2 separate regions of the Homo sapiens genome follow, and region 2 is linked to region 1. The links are contacts of gene promoters, found by promoter capture Hi-C in blood cells and fetal thymus (Javierre and others, 2016). All regions are on one chromosome and are shown on one strand. The core of a region is centred on a gene start or on the middle of the fragment in contact, and the rest is flanking DNA. Distances in the headings are between cores, read along the strand shown. Region 1 holds the start of CCDC9 (coiled-coil domain containing 9). Region 2 overlaps AP2S1 (adaptor related protein complex 2 subunit sigma 1).

The links. The method cuts DNA at HindIII sites, captures the fragments that hold promoters and counts their contacts. A CHiCAGO score of 5 or more calls a contact.
Region 2: a contact is called between a fragment that was not itself captured here and the fragment with the promoter of CCDC9 in region 1, in 1 of 17 cell types (naive B cells). The highest score is 5.3, in naive B cells.

Annotation. Positions count from the first base shown.
Region 1 is chr19:47,254,593-47,258,394 of GRCh38, reverse strand. CCDC9 (coiled-coil domain containing 9) reads right to left here and starts at 1,870. Exons shown (of 12, transcript NM_015603.3): 1 at 1,786-1,870; 2 at 1-65. RefSeq lists silencers at 1,072-1,121, 1,162-1,401, 1,612-1,721 and an enhancer at 1,612-2,521. The HindIII fragment of the contact is 17,839 bases long and covers 1-2,227 here.
Region 2 is chr19:46,847,233-46,850,501 of GRCh38, reverse strand. All of the region lies in intron 1 of AP2S1 (adaptor related protein complex 2 subunit sigma 1), which reads left to right. Among named protein-coding and RNA genes, the nearest start is that of AP2S1, 2.0 kb to the left of the region's middle. The HindIII fragment of the contact is 1,318 bases long and covers 680-1,997 here.

The DNA of each region.
Region 1 (3,802 bases), core at 621-3,120:
GGCTGCGTGGAGCCAAGGTCCCAGCAAACCTCCCCTGCAGAATCTAGACGCAGCACTGAGGGTTCCTGGGGACAGAGGGAAAAAAAGGACAAAGGCCAATGGCCCCCCAACCTACTTCACCCTCTAACATACTGCGGGATCCTCACAGCCATACACAAAAAACCCTGTACCCCAAGAGAATTGTAGCCCTCACTCTCCCTCCTTTCAACTGCCACCTCCATCTTCTCCATAGAAATTCAGACTCAGCCCTTTCATGATCTTTGTGGACTCACCCAGTTCCCATGTAAACGATCTAGTCAAACCCACCTTGGGGATGTTCTGGCCCCCACCCACTGCTTAAGTATCCAACACTGCTCTCCTCCAAAGGCTGATTCTAGGCCAGCCGCCACACCCTGTGGTATGAGTGTTAGCCCGGGTTCCCTATCTCAAGAGAGTTCCAACTACAACCCCTCCAACCAGCCTGCAAAAGAAAGTTCCAGACCCACCTCCCTGTGCTCATCCTGGTGCCTCTCATATCCAGGCGAATATTCTAGCTCCACCAGGTAAGGTTCAGAAACATTCCCAATCCCACGCTCAAAGAAAGTCCGAACCCCACTCTTATTGGCTGCCCAAGCTCTCAGAGAACATTCCAAGCCCGCGCCTTCCTCAGGGACGTCCTAGTCCCGTCTCCAGCGCCCTACGGAAGGTCGACAGCCTCCCGCCTCCCCCGAAAGGATTCTGTACACAGGCCCAGAACTCACTGGCGAGGCTTCCTGGAACTGGCGTTTTGCCCCACTGAATACTCCACCCGCCCCAACAAGGACAAAACTACCCAGGCCCGCCCCAGATTTTCTGTGCAAAGCTCCAGCCTCAATCCGGCTGGGAATGCCAGGGCCACGTCCCCGACATCCTGGAAACCGCTCTGGCCCCGCCCACGGCTCGGGAAAAAACTTTCTGGCCCCGCCTTTCCCGCCAGACTTCTGGCCCCGCCCCCACCCATGGGCCATTAATGTGGCCCCGCTCCCGACTTTCCCAGCCACGCTCTTTCCCCGCCTCCTGGCTCGCAGGCAACAGCCTACACCCGCCCCTACCATCTCTTATTATTATTCCAGCCCCGCCCCCGGCCTGCCCAGTCAACCCTCTGGCCCCGCCTCCGATTGGCCTGGCCAACCTCCTGGACACGCCCCCTGACTCCCTCCCACACCTCGTTGCGTCAGCATCTGGCCCCGCCCATGGCTTCCCCAGGGTTCTGGCTCAACTCCCCGCTTCCCCGCCTCCCGGCCAACGCTCTGGCCGCGCCCGTGGCTCAGACGAAACTTTCTGGCTCCACCCCCAGCATTCCCCGCCAGCACCCTGGCCCCGCCCCCTGGCTCCCCCACTACATTGTGGCCCCGCCCCCGCCATTGCGTCAGCCTCTGGGTCCGCCCCCAACGTCCCGGCCAAGAATCTGGACCCACTTCCAGTAAGGCAAAACTTTCTGGCCCCGCCCACAGAGCTTCCGCCCGGCGTCCGAGCCCCGCCACACAGCTGAACAAGCAACACTATGGCCCCGCCCACAGTCCAGCCACAACTTTTAGGTCCCGCCCACAGCCGCCGGCCCAGGCTCTGGCCACGCCCCGCCCCGACCCTGCCCACCCACCCAACGGCCCGCCCCGCCAGCGCCCCTCCAGCTTCCCATGTGGGCGTCCTGTCCCCGCCCCCCGCAGAGAACTCCGACCCCGCCCGGGCCTGTTCGCACTCCCCGCCACGTGGGGCTTCAGGCCCCGCCTTCTCTGGGCGCGCTCCCGGCCCCCTCCCCCAGGTCACCTGTCCCGGAGACCCCGCGGCGTCCGCGACTCCGGCTCCGTCGGCCTCTGCGACCGCAGCTCCCGGGCCAGGCGCGTCACTTCCTGCCTGCACCACGTGAGGAAGGGAAATAAAGAGGGTCACTTCCGGTCCTGTGGGACCGTTTCCGGGAGCCTTAAAGGGGCCGCGCCTCCGCGATGGATGCGGGAGCGGGGCCGACTGGCCCCCCGGGTGTTCCGCAAGCTCATCCAACTTCCTTCTGCCTGAATTACCAACTTCCAGGAAAAGGAGACACCGTCCTCACTCCCTGGCCTCTACCTCTTTCTTCAAGCTGTTTCCGCCTCCAGCCCCTCATTCCTGGTTTCTATCAGTAGATGCCAAGCACTGGGCACTGACGCCTGGAAGCCTGGCGTGGTTCGAGCCCCCTCGTGCCAATGAAACCTTAGAGTTCGCTTTAGAAGCTTCAGATGTTCTACCGGCCGTGGGCGGTGGCTCACACTTGTAATCCCAGCACCTTGGGAGGCCGAGGCGGGCGGATCACCTGAGGTCAGAAGTTCGAGATCAGTCTGGCCAACATTGTGAAATCCCGTCTCTACAAAAAAAATTAGCCGGTTGTGGTGGCGCGCGCCTGTAATCCCAGCAACTCGGGAGGCTGAAGCAGGAGAATCGCTTGAACCGGGGAGGCAGAGGTTGCAGTGAGCCGAGATCATGCCACCGCACTGCAGCCTAGACGACAGAGCAGACCCCTTCTCGAAAATAAAATAAAATGCTGGGCGCAGTGGCTCACGCTTGTAATCCCAGCACTTTGGGAGGCCGAGGAGGGCGGATCACTTGAGGCCAGGAATTCGAGACCATCCTTGCCAACATGGTGAAACCCCGTCTCTACTAAAAATACAAAAAAAATCAGCCCGGCGTGGTGGCGGGCGCCTGTAGTCCGAGCTACTCCGGAGACTGAGCCAGGAGAATGGCGTGAACCCCGGGGGCGGAGCTTGCAGTGAGCCGAGATCGCTCCACTGCACTCTAGCCTGGGCGACACAGGGAGACTCCGTCTCAAAAAATATACATATACAAAAATTAGCCAGGCATGGTGGCGGGCGCCTGTAATCCCAGCTACTTGGGAGGCTGAGGCAGGAGCATCGCTTGAACCCGGGAGGCAGAGGTTGCAGTAAGCCGAGATTGCACCACTGCACTGCAGCCTGGGCGACAGAACGAGAGACTCCGTCTCAAAATAAAATAGGCCGGGCGCCGTGGCTCACGCCTGTAATCCCAGCACTTTGGGAGTCCGAGGCGGGTGGATCACCCGAGGTCAGGAGTTTGAGACCAGCCTGACCAACGTGGTGAAACCCTGTCTCTACTAAAAAATACAAAAATTAGCCAGGCATGGTGGCGGGCACCTGTAACACCTGTAATCCCAGCTACAGGCTGAAGCAGGAGAATCGCTTAAACCCGGGAGGCAGAGGTTGCAGTGAGCTGAGATCGTGCCATTGCACTCCAGCCTGGGCGACAGAGCAAGACTACGTCTCAAAAAAATAAATAACTGGCCAGGCGCAGTGGCTCATGCCTGTAATCCCAGCACTTTGGGAGGCCGAGGCAGGTGGATCACAAGGTCAGGAGTTCGAGACCAGCCTGGCTAACATGGTGAAACCCCGTCTTTACTAAAAATACAAAATTTAGCCAAGCATGGTGGCAGATGCCTGTAATCCCAGCTACTTGGGAGGCTGAGATAGAGAATTGCTTGAACCCGGGAGGCAGAGGTTGCAGTGAGGCAAGATCGTGCCACTGCACTCCAGCCTGGGCGACAAAGTGAGACTCCGTATCGAAAATAAATAAGTAAATGAAATCATAAAATATAAAATAAGGCCGGGCGCGGTGGCTCACGCCTGTAATCCCAGCACTTTGGGAGGCCGAGGCGGGCGGATCACGAGGTCAGGAGATCGAGACCATCCCGGCTAAAACGGTGAAACCCCGTCTCTACTAAAAATACAAAAAATTAGCCGGGCGTAGTGGCGGGCGCCTGTAGTCCCAGCTACTTGGGAGG
Region 2 (3,269 bases), core at 89-2,588, 410 kb after region 1:
GTAGATGGTTGGAAGCTTTGAAACGAGAGGAAACTCGTGAGACACAGTCTTGTGGGTAGCGAGAAGGCATTGGAGGTGGGGAGAGGGCGTCCGAAAGAGGAAGGCGCTCTGGAAGTGTGGCGGGAGCGCTGGGACGAGAACGCGAGACCTTGGAAAAGGGGAGGGAGGTTTTCTTGATGGGAGGAGTCTCTAGAGACAAGGATCTGATTGCAGGTGGAGAGGGGATGTTGAGACAGGGGCAGGAGACTGCCTGTGAGAGAGGGATGATCTCAAGAAGAGACCTGGCACAGGAAACCAAAAGGAGGCAACTGTAGGGAATGAAACTTAAGGGTCTGGGAAAGCGCTGTAAAAGGAGAGAGGACCTGGAGGTAAGATGGACACTCGGAAAGAATGGGGAGCAACTGAATAGGTCTTTCCAAGAGGAGAGATCTTGTGGGGTGGGGAGTAGGCTTGAAAGTGTGAGACCTGGGGAGGAATCTTTGTTGGGGCAAAGACTCAACATTGGATTTAGGAGTGCCCCTATCCCCCAGGTTGGGGCTTTGGATCTAGGAAAGGGTTCTTTGGGCTGGAAGTTGGGAAAGAAAACGAATGAGAAAGAGTGTCAGAGCGGGGGCGGAGTCTCCTCCAGGAACAGGGTCCTTGGAGGCAAAATGTGACCTTTTGAAGAAGGGAGGAAGCTTGGGAGTGGGACAAGGGATGTCACCAGTAAAAAGCCCATTGAGGCCCCAAGGAGGGGAACTGAGACTGAGAAAGTGGAGGTCAAAAGGGAACAACTCCAGAGGAGGGGGATTGGAGACAGGGAAGGTTGGGGGGCATCTAGAGGGGACAGCAGAGGCGTGAGGATGCAGAGATTCAGGACGGAGGGGACTTGAGATTCCAAATGGGAAGAAAACAGGGAGAGGTATACAAGGGAATTTGGGAGTAAGAGGCAGAGCTTTTTGTCAACTCTGTGGGTTTGCTTCTAGTTCTCCTAACTGTGTGAATATGTCTCCGGCTCTGCTCCCAGGCTGTGGCTGCCTGGTGTAGGCCCCCCAACGTCCCTTCCTGCCTGGGACCCCTGCCCTGCTAGGAAGTGGTTTTCCCTGGCTCAGCAGGAGTTCTTGGAAGGAGAGTGTAACATCCTGTTCCGGTCCAGTTTGGTTGGTTGGGGGAGGGAGGATAGAGTGTGTGGAGAATGAGGCTTAGGAAAGACTCTCAGGCTGGGGCGGTGACTCATGCCTGTAATCCCAGCACTTTGGGAGGCTGAGGCAGGCGGATCACATAAGGTCAGGAGTTCGAGACCAGCCTGGCCAACGTGGTGAGACCCCGTCTCTACTAAAAATACAAAAATAAGCCAGGTGTGGTGGTGGATGCCTGTAATCCCAGCTACTTGGGAGGCTGAGGCAGGAGAATCGCTTGAACCCGGGAGGCAGAGGCTGCAGTGAGCCGAGATTGTGCCACTGGCCTAGGCGACAGAGTGAGACTCTGTCTCAAAAAAAAAAAAAAAAAAAAGGCTGGGCACAGTGACTCGCGCCTGTAACCCCAGCACTTTGGGAGGCTGAGGCAGGCAGATCACAAGGTCAGGAGTTCGAGACCAGCCTGACCAACATGGTGAAACCCTGTCTCTACTAAAAATACAAAAATTAGCCGGGCATGGTGGCATGCGCCTGTAATCCCAGGTACTTAGGAGGCTGAGGCAGGAGAATCGCTTGAACCTGGAGGTAGAGGTTGCAGTGAACCGAGACAGTGCCACTGCACTCCAGCCTAGGCAACAGAGTGAGACTGTCTGAAAACAAAAAAGAAAAGAAAAAGACAGGACTAGAGGGCTCTCTTTCCTAAGAGAGAAGGCTCCCACAAGTTGGGGTCAGGTGGTTCAGAGCAAAGCCTTTGGACTCCCACCTCTGCTTTCTGGCTGTGAGACTTCCTTTCCCTAAATCTCAGTTTCCTCATCTATAAAATGGGCATGAGCATGCCTGTCTCAGACAGAAATGGGCCCAGAACTTCTAATGGAGTAAGCTTTGGCCATGGTTTTCTGAACATCACATAATGGAAAATATAATGCTGCTAAGAGCTGGTTCTTATGTAACACTTAGTACGTGCCAGTCACTGTACTATACCTCTATGTTTTTGTTTTTGTTTTTTTGAGACAGCGTCTCGCTCTGTCACCCAGGCTGGAGAGCAATGGTGCAATGTCAGCTCACTGCAACCTCTGCCTCCTGGGTTCAAGTGATTCTCATGCCTCAGCCTCCCGAGTAGCTGGGATTATAGCCGCCTCCCCCCTGCCCCCCATCACACCTGGCTAATTTTTGTATTTTTAGTACAGATGGGGTTTCACCATGTTGGCCAAACTGGTCTCGAACTCCTGACCTCAAGTGATCTGCCCGCCTTGGCCTCCCAAAGTGCTGGGATTACAGGTGTGAGCCACCGTGACCGGCCAGGAATATCCTTTACTCCTCACAGTAAACTCAGGCACCAAAGTGGCACCAAAGTTAAGTCATGAAAGTGGCAGACGCTTTGGAAAACGGTTTAGCAATTCCTGAGAAAGTTAAACATAGCGTTACCCTATGAGCCAGCAATCTCACTCTTAGGTATATACCCAAGAGAAATGATCCATCCACACGAAAACTCATACACGAATGTTCATAGCAGTATTATTCATAATAGCCCTAAAGCAGAAACAACCCAAATGCCCGAAGTACGGCCTTATCCATCCAACAGAGGATCACTCAGCCACGGAAAGGAATTGCAGCTCTGCCGCTTGCCACCCCACAGATGAGCCTGGAAAACGTCACGCTGAGTGAAGGAAGCCAGACACGAAAGCCACAGAGTGCATGATTCCACTCATATACAATGTCCAGAACAGACACATCCACAGAGACAGAAAGGAGACTCGTGGCTGCCAGGCCCTGGGGGAACGGAGAGTGACTGCTAATGGGTGGGGAGTTTTTTGGGGGGAGATGATGAAAATGTTCTGGTATTAGATAATAAATTAGATAGTGGTGATATTAGGTGGGGTGCAGTGGCTCACGCCTGATGCAGCACTTTGGGGGGATGAGGTGGGTGGATCGCTTGAGGCCAGGAGTTCGAGACCAGCCTGGACAACATGGTGAAACACTGTCTCTACTAAAAATACAAAAAGTTAGCTGGGCGTGGTGGTGTGCACCTGCGGTCCCAGCTACCTGGGAGGCCTGCACCCAGGAGGTGGAGGTTGCAGTGAGGCGGGATCGCGCCACTGCACTCTAGCCTGGGCAACAGAGCTAGAACCTGTCTCAAAAAAAAAAAAAAAAGTG